Regions from separate parts of the Homo sapiens genome. Here regions 2 and 3 are each linked to region 1. The links are contacts of gene promoters, found by promoter capture Hi-C in human tissues and cell types (Jung and others, 2019). All regions are on one chromosome and are shown on one strand. Each heading gives the region's core, a stretch centred on a gene start or on the middle of the fragment in contact. The rest is flanking DNA. Distances are from core to core; before and after follow the strand shown. Region 1 holds the start of ZNF250 (zinc finger protein 250). Region 2 has its middle 21 kb from the start of C8orf33. Region 3 holds the start of C8orf33 (chromosome 8 open reading frame 33).

Region 1 (4,107 bases), core at 1,473-3,972:
AGGTTGCGGTGAGCCAAGATCATGCCATTGCACTCCAGCCTGGGCGACAACGAAACTCGGTCTCAAAAAAAGGATAAAAAATAAAAAAAGTAAACTGTATACTCATGAACGATACGTAAATTGTGTGTATATATATTATATATATCATATACGATTTGTTGCAGGGACTGTGCCTTACACCATTGTGGCACATAGTTAACAGTTCCTGTAAGGCTGTTGTCTTTGCATCTGATGCTGGAACAGGGCAGACAGTTGGGAAGGGAAGATGGATGTAAAGTGAGGAGAGACAAGTTGAGGTCTGTGACCTCAAGCTGGAGCCCAGGATGCGCTGAAACCCCTTTGTTGCCCTATAGGAGAAGCTGGAGCCTTTAGTCTTGGAGCTGAAGGAGCCAGAGGAAGAGGGGGCAGCTGCTGCCTCATGTCGCCCAGGTGAACCAGCAGACACAATGGCACCTGCCCAGACCTTCTGTAGTCCTCACCATCTCTGGACACACTCTGTAATTCCTACATTTATTCTGCGTATTGCCTACTGTCTCCATTCACATGTATGGTCCAGAAAGACATGGATTTGTTAGGCACTTGCTTGTTCACTGATGTAGCCCCGACACTTAGTGCTTAGCACACAAGCACTCAATAAACATTGTGCTGTTGAAGGAAAAAGAGTGACAGAGACACAGAAGGGACGTGCTAGAGAGGATGTCAGCTGCTAAATCTAAGTGAAGGGCACGGAGGTATTCATTGTATTATTCTTTCAACCTTTATGAATGTATCAACATTTGCAAAATAAAAAAGTTGTGGAGGAGGAAGAAAAACAAAAACCAGGATGCACTGAGGTCTGAGGTGAAGGTCCTAGGAGCATCAGTTCTCTGTTGGGATCAAGGTTGCTGGGACAGAGCTTGATCCCTGTCAACTGCTAAAACAATCCAGGACAATCCAATAGTAGAGCTGAATTTTGATTACCTTGGTCCTGAGCTTCACAGCCCTTTGGCAGAGGAAATCCTGTGACACTGAGGTGTAACCACAAGACTGGCCCAAACTGACCCTATTCTGTTGGTAACAGGAGGTATAGCAGAGCCAAAACTGAAAGTCATGTAACCCGGACATGCACAAAGGAGGAAAATCATAACTCGGAACCAACGTTTCCTCCCTGTGGAGCCAAGAAGACAGGGACATGACCGGAGCTTGAGGGGCGGAACGCTTTCAGAAGGGAAGGGTCCATTATCCTGGAAGATCTGGTGCTGAAACCTGCCATTCCACACCTTACCATAAATGGCCAAGTTTAAAGCCCTCCTATTGAAACCTGCCCGCCAGCACTTCTGTGTGCCAACCTGTCCTCCCTAACCCGTCGACTTTGACCTAAGCCCACATGTGGGAGCCACATTTGAGCCATGCCTCCGGTCTCCTTGGCCGTCGACCTTGAAATAATAAAGCCTTCTCTTTTCTCAAAAACTGGTGCCACCGTTTTGGCTTCTAGTGCGCCAGGCAACGGGCCCATTGCTCGAAACGCGCGTGGTGGATGGTAGCTCCGTGAAGTGCGAACCCCTGCCCGCAAGGGCTGCTAAGTTCGCTGAAGCGTAGCACAGACTTCGCGTCTGCCTGGTGCGCGGCAAGTACGGAATTATCGCCACATCCTCCCGGCCTCCGCTCCCAACAGCACGGGCCGGGCACTCGCTTCAAGCCTACCCCCTAACCTTAAGCCTTCCCCGCCGCCCCCACGCAGCCCCCAGCCCCGCCCTGTGGGGAAGCCTCTTGAGAGTCTGGGCCCGCCCACGCGCCCAATGGACGACGCGGACCTGACCTTCGGGAGTGGGGCCAGCAGAAGGTGGACTAGGCGTCAGCCTTCCCGTCCCCTGACACCGCTCCAAACCAGCCCCACCCTCCCTGCCGCGGCTGTCAGGTCCTGGGCTGTGCCCGAAGCCTCCACACGGGTGTGGCCCGCGCCCTCGTGAAGGCCCGCCCCTCTCCCCCAGGTGCGCGGTGTAAACACACCAAAAAGCAAACACCAGGGCCGAGTGGGCGACGGAGACGGTCGCTGTTCAGTGACGCCCCCTGTCGGGAGCACGCCGGGCCGGACACAGCGAAGAGCGGCTGCGCCTCGGACCTCGCAGCACTCAGCCTCCTAAGTGGGAGGAATAACCTCACGCAAGTCATCAAACAAGAGGACTTCAGTGTTGCAACGAAGGAAGAGAAAGGGCCCCTGAGAAGGCGACATTCGCACTGCAGCGGCGCAGGGACCAGCCAGGCGGCTGAGGGCAAGGTCGTTCCCAGCAGCGGGAACCGCAAGGGCAAAAGGCTCGGAGGGGGGAACGAGCTCGAGTTCCAGGACGGCCGAAGCCAGCGCAAGTCGAGGAGGGACTGCGGGGCCGGCAGGGGTGTCCTCCACAGGGCGACGGCGGCAGGAGCTCGGGAACCGGGACTGCGAGCGGGTAAGGCTCGGCGATGGGCTGTAACCTCCGCGCCCGGAAGTGCGGCCGGGGAGCCGGCCGGGCCCATTGCCCAGAGGTGTTCGGCCCCTCTAGGGATCGCGGAGGTCTGGCTCTCGGTGGCTCCTGAGAGCTCCCTGCAGTCGGTCACCGAGAAAGGCTTCGGGCGGGCAGGCGGGCCAAATGACGTAAACATGCTTGCCCTCCAGGATTGGCGAACTCGGCTGTGGGGGCGGGAACTGAGGGGCAGGAGCCCCCAGGGATTGGCGGCTGCGCAGACGGGGCGGGGCAGCCCTTTGTCTGAAGGTGCTGCGGGATGCCGTTCCTTCGCGCGTGAGGCTGCGGCTCTGACGGTGAGTGGGGGGCGCGTGTCGTCGCCGGCCAGGACCCTCTCCCATCACGGACACCGGAGCCGGTGCGTCCTCCACACGAATCGTGGACTCTTCCCCGCGAGCACGCACTGCCTCCTGCGTTTACGCTGGTCCCCTCCCCTCACGGACGCGCGGCGGCCTCCTCCCCAGGGCCAAGGCCGCGCCCTCTCCCCCGTTCGGGGTTCCCACCCTTCCCCTCGCCCGGCCTTGGACCCCCTCAGGCCCTCCCGCACCCCCGTCCGCCTCGGACGGCCTCGGTCCCTTCCCCGCCCCTACCCCCTTGGGCCCCGTCAGACCGGCGTCCCTCCCACCTTGGATCTCCTCAGATCTCCGGCCTTCCTCCCCCTCGTGCCCTCCCGCGCGCTTTCTACCGGGCGCCGTGCCTAGGGCCAGGATGGCCGGAGTCCTAGGGGCGCAGTCCGGACCCCCGGGCCGCTCTTCTTGCCGCGCTCCTCGGGGTCTCGCGTCCCCTGGGATGGGCCCGGAAAGGGGTGGGGAGCTTCCCCAAAATATAAAAATGGAGGTTTTTTCTGTTTGATGCACATCCTGAGGAGCCCCATGAAGACCCCGGCGGCGCACCGGGAGCGCCACTTTACTTAGCTATAAAAAGTCTTCCCGCGTCAAGACGAAAACGAGCTGCTTTCGTTTCAGCAGTTGGTCGAGTGTGCTACTTGCCGGGTGTCTTATCCTCTCCCCATTTTGCTGTCGATGCTGTCTTTTCTGTTACTGTGTTAGAGCCCTATTTTAATGAATGAGCCCAACTCTTTGCAACACAGCAAATATTTTCCTTGTTGTTTATTGGCTTAATTTTAAAATTGAAAATAATATGCAATACTTCTTCTAATGCAGGCATGTCAGAAATATATAAAAGTCATCCCCCCCGACACTCTGCCAGTGTATGAAGAGGCAGGAGCTGTGAACAGTTTCAGAATTTTTGAATGCCGTTAGAGCTTTAGGCACGCACGCACACCCTTTTTTCTGTCATCAAAGGGAAGCTGGTGTCGTTTGACTAACACCAGGGGCGGCAGGGGGCGCTCCACTCGTCCTCCGCCGGGTGGGTACTCGCAGATTTTTCAGTTCGTAACTTGTCTTCTGGACATAGGTTTCTCTGTCCGGTGGTCTCTACGAAGTGGGTAAGGGTGGGAGATTGCCATTGACATTCCCGCCCTGGACGGGACTCTGGTCCTGTGGGCTTTGACAGGTCACTGCATTCCTGCCAGGTCGACGTTTTGCGTTTATTGGTGAGATTGAAATCCCTTCATTTGTGTTTTCGCCATTTGTATTTCTTTGTGATTTGCCAGCTCATATTTTTT
Region 2 (4,223 bases), core at 54-2,553, 130 kb before region 1:
GCATGATTGCTATCTGTATACACATTTATTCTTTTTCCCTTTCCCAGTCCTAAGGCTTGGGTAAGTGCCACTAGTTCTGTTAACTGGGCACTGGTCCCTGGGGGAAGAGGCTTACTTTCAAGTACCGTTACATCACTAACTATGGCATAACCTGCCCTTCATATCCAATTCTCCACAAATGAACTTCCATTGGTATATAGGTTAGGGTCAGGATTAACTAAGGGGACTTCTAAGAGATCCTCTCAGTGGCATAAGTCTGGACTATAATTTGTTGGCAGTAGTGCTCAACTGGTCCTCCATCCTCTGGGAGAAAGGTGACAGGGTTTAGGGCTGCACATGTGCATATTTGAAGCACCAGTCCCTCAAGGTGTAGCAGCTGGTATCTAAGCAGGCAGTTGTCTGATAGCCATAAACTACCTTTGGCACCTATTATGCCATTTACATCATGAGTAGTCCAGATGGTGAGATCCTTTCCTTGTATTATTTTCATAGCCTCTGATACTGAGATTGCCACTGCCACAACTACCCATAAACAGTGAGGCCAGCCTTTTTTCCACTGTTGGGGAAACCAGCCCCACAACACCCAGTGGGTACCCCAAATCCAGCAGAGACAAAGGAGTTGGAAAGAGACAGAATAAGCATTTAAAAGGCAGGTCCAGGGGACAAGAGTGTTGGAGGCTTGCTCATGGCCCAGAGCTCTCAGGCTCTGCCCAATTTATTGGTCTACAAGCTCTTTGTTCTTAAGGCAGATGGGAGGGGGAGGAAGGGGTGGGAAAAAGGATTAATCAGTGAAGGAGAACTCGTGAGTCATTCGATAAGATGTATAGCAGTGGCGGTTTCTGTGAATTTCCTTGAGCAGAGGTGTATGTCTAAACTACTTAAGATCTTGCGGGTTTCAGGAGGAGCCAAGATGTTTGATTATACTCCACTGCTTCAAGGGAGTGTTATCTCCCTGAGCAACCTGTGGAATGCTGCTGAGCAGTTATGCTCTCAGGGCATAAAGACATGAAGGCAATAAGGAGACTTTTCCCCCCAGAGGCTGCCCATGGCTTCCCATGGGTGTCTCACACAGGGGAGACCAACTCAACTGGCACCCTAGAAACTCTCTTTCCCACATGTCCCCCTTTTTTGTCTTTATTAATTTTTTTTGATTAATAACTGCCATTGCTATCATGGCTCATTCACGGTGTCTGGCTTCTCTCCCAAGGCATCATCCACATCTGTAGACTAAAAACAAACAGCATAAACAGACACAAACCAAAATAAAATTTGCAATTGTTGATCCACCTATGGTTTTAATCCACTTTAAAGGATTGGTATTAGAAAGGCCATCAGCAGCTCCAGCAAGAATATCATCTCCAGGCAACAGGGTGAGATGAACCTTAGATGTCTCAAAAACATGTTTTTCCAGTTTAGCAATATCTAATGATAAATTATCTTCTTTTCCTTGTAGGTGACATCTAATCATCTCCCAATGGTGTTCACTGGCATTGTAAGAGCTAGGAGTAATACAAAAATCAGAAGTATTCCAATCACGTTGCATTTGAATTCTATGCTCCAAGCTCATAATCCAATCTCCCATCCACATTACTGTTTGATGGAGATCATTAATTTGATTTGCCAATTTTTGATCTATTTGGCTTTGGGGATTCCAAAGCTTAGAAGAATTTTTCTGCCAACTATCCACAAAGCCCACAGTTTGAATAGAAGTGTGCAAAGCAACACCAGCAACAGCAGCAGCAGCTGTGACAGCTATAAGGCCCATGATCACAGCTATTAAAGTAAATATGCATCTCTTTTATCTATTAAGTATTCCTTTTAGTAATTCAGTGATAATATGTATGGAGGGAGAGGACTCCCAAGGTCTATTGAGGGAAATAGGTATCCAAACTCCTTCTCAGGCCCTAACCAGTAAAATGTTATTATCTTTATTAAAGGTAGAATTAATGCAGGTAAAAAGATGACAGTTGAGGAATGATATGGTTTGAGAGTCAGGTAGGATATTAATTTTTCCCACTGCCAACATAAGAGGAGGTTTAACACAACTCTGCAATGGGACCATCTGATTAGAAGTCATGGCTACAACAAATTGAAGTTTTTACTATGGGTCTCTGTTTTATATTCTCCTTTCCAAATCCGAATTGGGTTTGAGCCATCATTAATTTCCACAATTCTGGATGTTCTGGACTTATAATTGGATCAATTATTTTGGGGCTTGAAGGAGCCATACCATTCCCCTCCCACTTAATAGGGAAATGTGCTTCCATTCTTCTATATAATTTTGGTGCATAATCTGGGTGGTCGTTTGCAAAAGGAGTCTCTCTACAATCTTCACGCTGTCCAGTACAATTTACTGCAAAGCCTCTCCTAGGGGCCAAATCAATGATGATTCCATAGGAATTATTTTGCAGTACAGCATCGCTGTTTGCAATACAATCTTCCCAGGTTAGCACCTCTAGCTTTCCAGACCATTTAGTGGCCTGCCTAGGGCAGGGCTTCTTATTAGGTTTAAATTTATTAATCTGGTGATGTGTCATAACATAGCCGTGCACAAGGTATTTAATAGTGTCCAAAGATTGAAATGTTCTTCCACTGATTACATGAATACAGGCTTTTGATCCACTATGTGCAGGGACATAAACCATCCAACTTTATTTATCATAATTTAAACATCCTCCTGTCGGCCCCAGGCAGATGGGAGGAAAGTGATAAGCAATGGAAACATTCATTAACATTCCTTCCTCCTCTGGATGAGTAGGACCTCGGTTGCCTGTTGGTCCAGGCATCCAGACACTATCATTAACATAAACCTCCACCAGGAAGTCTAACCATGTAACAGGCCTAATCAGTGGTGGGAATGGAATGTAGGCCCAATAATTGTAATTTTGATCTGCCTCAGCTATGGGGAGACTCACCACCAGGGAGATTACTGTCATCATAGCTACCATTAGATTACTGGTGGTCAGCGGCTTATTCTGAGACCTCAGGTTCTCTTCTGTAATATGAGCTAGTCTCTTCATCTGCCCCCAGGTCGGTGGAGTTACTTGGTGGGTTTTACTGGTTTCCATCTGCTCAACAGAGATGTTCATCTGAGCCATCTGATGAACTGGGGGTGAAGGGATATTCCAAGGTCTTTACCTCTTCCTTGGATTCTGGCTTATGGCACAGCTTAAGATGTCTTATGTGTACCCAGACAGGAAGCTGATTCTCTCCCGGTGAGATACAAGAAAACGCTTGACCCCAAGTAATGATTTTGCCCTTTTCCCAGGTTTTGATTCTGACTTCCTTCCACCACACATGTTTTCCTTCATGACGATTTATTTTTGCCCTGACAAATGCTGTTCTGCTGTTGTTGTAACCTTATCTTTAGACAAATTCAAAAAATTTAAAGTGATAAGAGCAAATTGTAGCTGCATATGGGGAGTAGAGTATTCTCTGGTTCCCCCCTCTGTCTTTTGTTTTTGTAATTGAGATTTTAAGGTTTGATTAGCCCATTCAACAATGGCTTGGCCTTGAGAATTATAGGGTATTCCAGTACTGTGCTCAATGTACCATTGTTGAAGGAACGCTTGTAAAGATTTACTACAGTAGCCTGGGCCATTGTCTGTTTTAATCTTTTGTGGGAGGCCCATGGCAGCAAAACAGGAAAGTAAATATCTTTTAATACGAGCAGCCGCCTCGCCTGTTTGGCAAGTTGCCCACACAAAATGAGAAAAGGCATCTATAGTAACATGGACGTATGAAATTTCCCAAACGAAGGTACGTGGGTTACATTCACTTGCCCCAACATATTACGGGTTAATCCCTGTGGGTTAACATGAGTCCCTTCATGTGGCAGTTATAGTACCTGGCACTGAGGGTAATGTTGTACAATGTCCTTTGCCTGTCTCCAAGTAATCTGATATTTTTGTTTAAGTCCTGCTGTATTAACATGTGTTTCACAAGGAGTGAAAATCTTGGGCATTAGTAAGCACAGTTGAAACTAGTAAATCAGCTTGACCATTAGCCCTTACAAGGGGCCCAGGAAGATTAGTGTGTGCTTGAATGTGTGTAATATAGAAAGGAAAACAGCGATCATGCACTGTCTTTTGTAAAGAAGAAAACAGCTGATAGAGTTGTTCACCCACAAGATATTTAATGAGTGCAGTTTCTATGTATTGAATGGCTTGAACAACATAAGGTGAATCAGAGACAATATTTACAGGTTGCTTAAAGTCTTCTAA
Region 3 (3,775 bases), core at 693-3,192, 150 kb before region 1:
ATTTATTGCATATTTTCTAAATGCACCTCTCTCTCTCTTCTGAAAGAGAGAACATTTCATCAGAAAACGAACGGGGTCTTTTGCCTATCTGATGGTCTCACACCTTCACAACAGCTACAAATCCTTGGACCAGCCAGGGACAGACCAACTCCAGGGTTCTCTGACAACAGAAGTCCTGGAAAGGCTCTGCACTCAAAACAAACCCCTACACCACCCCAAGGGAGGGGGATTGTTTCAGGTTCGGGGAGACGCTAAAAGAAATTGAACCTAAACTCTTCATCAGGCATGTCCAGAGTGGCTTTGGCTCTCCATATAGAGCGAGGCCTGCAGACCCTTTGGCTCTTCTTTCTGGTGGCTCCATCTACAGGTTGCACCTGGGCTGAATAAGCAGCTGTCGGGGAGAGAAGCAGCGTATGTCAGAACTGAATAATAACAATTAACATTACCTGTACAGTTATGTTTGCCCATACAATTCTAACCACCTTGCATAAATTAACTGATTAATTCCTCAAATTTGTAAGGTTGATATTACTATCATCCCCCACTTAGAGAGGTTCAGTAGTTTGCAAAAGGTGTTAGTACTACTATGTGGTAGATCCAGGATTTGAACCTAGCTGATCTGGCCCCAGGAATTGCACTCAAACTGTTATGGGATATGGCTTCATTGCTAGTAGAGAAAGCCAAGACACAAAGACATGAGGCAGCTTTCCCCAACCCAGGAGCAGGACCAACATAGGACCATGCTCTTTCCCACTCCTCCCAGGGCCTCCCCGCTGCTTCCCAGGTTCAGTCCTAGGAAGAGGAAAGAGAGGTCCACGCTTTCTGTTTCCCTGCTCCCTCAGGCTTCCCTGAGCCCATCTCCTTCCCCCACCAGGCTTGTTGCTCTGGGCCTTCTTCCTTTCACCCCCTAGACACTTCCTCCTTAAGTTAGGCCTTCCTGAATCAACCAGTGGCTAGCTCCTCACCAGCTCTGAGAGCCCGCAGGGCCTCACGCCATTCGGCTTCCATCTGAGCCCTATAGTCTCCAAACAAGGAGTGCATCAGCTGCCTCTTCCGGGGCAAGGGCGTTCTTTTGCTGCGCAGGGTTCGGATTGCTCCAATAGCCTGCTCTTCTGCGAATAAAAATAAAGGACTAGTGAACACCTCTATTACTGACCTCCTACCACCCCGCCGCAAAGCCAACAACTCCATACTCTGCCAGCACCTGCAGGCCAGGCAGTGCCACTGTTCACATCCCCCAGCTCTACAGAAGGGTCCCTTACTCTGTTTCGGGGTGGGTTTCTGCCTCTTGAGGCCCAGCTCCAGTTGCTCCACACACCAAGCCAATTCCTGGGCCAACTGTTGTGCCTGTGATGGATTTGGGGAAGTGGCTGTGAGAGGGCACTGGAAAACCATAGCCGCCGGCCCCATCCCATGCCCCTCCCCGCCTTAACTCCGCGGACCCCAGATCACACGTGCCCGTGGATTCGCACCCGTGGATTCCACCCTTCCCGACCGAAGCCCGCCCTTGCCTGGGCCTCAGCGCTTAGGGGAACTTCTTCTGGGGCGAGTTTCTCTGAGGCCTTCTCGCCTCCATTTGCCACAGAGGCCCTGTTCCGCGTTTTCTTCTTATTCTTTTGTTTTTTCGACGCTGTGCCGCCTTCATCGCCCAACGGGTGCGCTCTGGAGTCAGCGTTACTGCACGTAGGTTGCTCTGGGCAGAGACAGACAGTGGAAGGATTCCGGGCGCTGGAAACTGGGCCGGGAAGCCGGGCTCCGCGGGACGCGCAGGGAGTACCCGGGCCTGGGGCCGCCGCTGCCTCCCCAGCAAGATGTCCCAGGGCCTGGAGAAAGGGGGGTAGCACGAGGGTCACCGAGAGCCGCCAACAATGCAAGGCCCAGCCACCCGCGCGTCTTCTCCACACCGCTCACCGCCATGCGCCGCAGTCGCCACCGGAACTACGCGGGGCGCAGAGTCCGACGCCGAATTCCGTCCTTCAAGAACGCGCCTGCGACTCTAGGTTCCGCGGGGCGCGGGCGGGGCGCGGGCGGGGCGCGGGCGGGGCGCGGGCGGGGCGCGGGCGGGGCGCGGGCGGGGCGCGGGCGGGGCGCGGGCGGGGCGCGGGCGGGGCGCGGGCGGGGCGGGGCGCGGGCGGGGCGCGGGCGGGGCGGGGAGCGGGCGGGGCGGGGCGCGGCTGGGGTGGGATGAAGCTGGGACGGGGCGAAGCTGGGACGCGCCTGGGACGAAGCTGAGATGGGGCTGGGGCGGGGCCTGGGGGTTCGGGGAAGAGGCTGAAGAGGGGTCTCGGAAGAACCCTTGTGAGCGAGTGATCGCGGGCGCTGACTACGTGCCCGGCACCTTTCCGGATAAAAGTTCAAAGCTCTCCACGAGGGTGTGTCTTCTCAAGGCTCACCTTTTGGTGGGGAGGGAAAAGCAAGTAAACAGCACGTGAGCAGCTACGGCGCAAGAGGGTGGTCGGCAAAGACCCTGGGAAATGGGGAAGAGCGAGGGTCAGGGCGCGGTCGTTTGAGAGGCCGGCGTCTCGGGACGTGGAGGCTCGGGTGAGGTCTGAGAGTTGGGAGGGCCCCCGTCATGGGCTTACTTCCGTTCTAACGCAGTGGGAAGTCGCTGCAAGATGTAAATCTGAAGAGTGGCATAATCGTAGACGTATGTTCTGCAGATCTCTCTGCTCTTGTGTAACGAGTGGGGCACATGGGGTGGAGGGACGTGGAGGGGTTTCAGAAGCAGACGCGGGAAGAGCCTTGGACAGGATATGGACGTGAGGGAGGGTGGCGGTATGGGGGAGAGGGAGAGCCCCATCCCACCACCTCTCTTCCCCTGGATGCTTCCCTCCCACTATACCTTGCTAGAGACCTGGGGTCACACACAACACTCGACCCCCGCCGATGGAGGCATGACAACCGAGAGGAATTGCGTAGGGGTTGAGGTGAGGCTGAGTAGGGTTTCAGGGGGGCAACGGGCTATGCCAGGAGGGTGGGTTGTGTTGCTTGAGAAGGTAAGAGTCCGAGATGTCTGATGATTCCTTTCGGGGACACAGGAGTGGAAAGCGGTGTTTCCTGAGACGGTGGGGTGGGAAGTGTTAGCTGCCTGGTCTGCAAGGTCTCGAAGGGTTACAGTTTGGTCATCACTGATAGTTATTTACTGCAGTGTGATACATTACTCCCAAAATTCGGCGGATTGGCCGGGCGCGGTGACTCACGCCTGTAATCCCAACACTTTGGGAGGCCGATGCGGGCGGATCACGAGGTTAGGAGTTTGAGACCATCCTGGCTAACATAGTGAAACCCCGTCTCTACTAAAAAATACCAAAAAATTAGCCGGGCATAGTGGCGGGCACTTGTAGTCCCAGCTACTCGGGAGGCTGAGGCAGGAGAATGGCATGAACCCGGGAGGTGGAGCTTGCAGTGAGCCAAGATCGCACCGCTGCACTACAGCCTGGGTGACAGAGCGAGACTCCATCTAAAAAAAAAAAAAAAAAAAAAACACGCAGAATTTAAACGGGACACGCAGTAAAGGAGATGCGGCATACAGTAATTTATTACAAAGGAGAAAGAATATTTGGAAAGTTAAGTGAACAATAGACAGTACACCCTGAGAGAGAGAGAGAGGATTGAGGGCCAGCTGCTCATAAGGTTGGGGCAGCAAAGACGCATGAGGGAGACTCCCTTTATGGGGGTCTTACATGATTATTCATAAGGAATTGGGAAGAGGTGCTACTAGTGAGTATGTTCTGGATGGTCCTCTGAGTGCACATGTGCGGTAGCTGTATGTTCT

The links. The method cuts DNA at HindIII sites, captures the fragments that hold promoters and counts their contacts. A contact is called where the count stands out against the background at its distance.
Region 2: a contact is called between a fragment that was not itself captured here and the fragment with the promoter of ZNF250 in region 1, in 2 of the 25 tissues and cell types used here (lymphoblastoid cells and mesendoderm cells).
Region 3: the fragment with the promoter of C8orf33 here is called in contact with the fragment with the promoter of ZNF250 in region 1 in 1 of the 25 tissues and cell types used here (IMR-90 fibroblasts).

The regions. Positions count from the first base shown.
Region 1 is chr8:144,900,068-144,904,174 of GRCh38, reverse strand. It overlaps ZNF250 (zinc finger protein 250), which reads left to right and starts at 2,722. Exons shown (of 6, transcript NM_001109689.4): 1 at 2,722-2,776. It overlaps LOC124902042, which reads right to left and starts at 2,551. Exons shown (of 1, transcript XM_047422534.1): 1 at 1,894-2,551. The coding sequence starts at 2,493. The coding sequence ends at 1,894. RefSeq lists silencers at 1,789-1,868, 2,929-3,038 and enhancers at 1,565-2,168, 2,169-2,771, 2,772-3,376. The HindIII fragment of the contact is 10,274 bases long and covers 1-4,107 here.
Region 2 is chr8:145,029,054-145,033,276 of GRCh38, reverse strand. It overlaps the pseudogene LOC124902043. Among named protein-coding and RNA genes, the nearest start is that of C8orf33, 21 kb to the left of the region's middle. The HindIII fragment of the contact is 4,725 bases long and covers 1-3,665 here.
Region 3 is chr8:145,050,634-145,054,408 of GRCh38, reverse strand. C8orf33 (chromosome 8 open reading frame 33) reads right to left here and starts at 1,942. Exons shown (of 5, transcript NM_023080.3): 1 at 1,912-1,942; 2 at 1,512-1,823; 3 at 1,263-1,347; 4 at 966-1,112; 5 at 1-391. The coding sequence starts at 1,917. The coding sequence ends at 252. RefSeq lists enhancers at 568-1,368, 2,297-2,346, 2,387-2,516 and a silencer at 2,017-2,086. The HindIII fragment of the contact is 15,142 bases long and covers 1-3,775 here.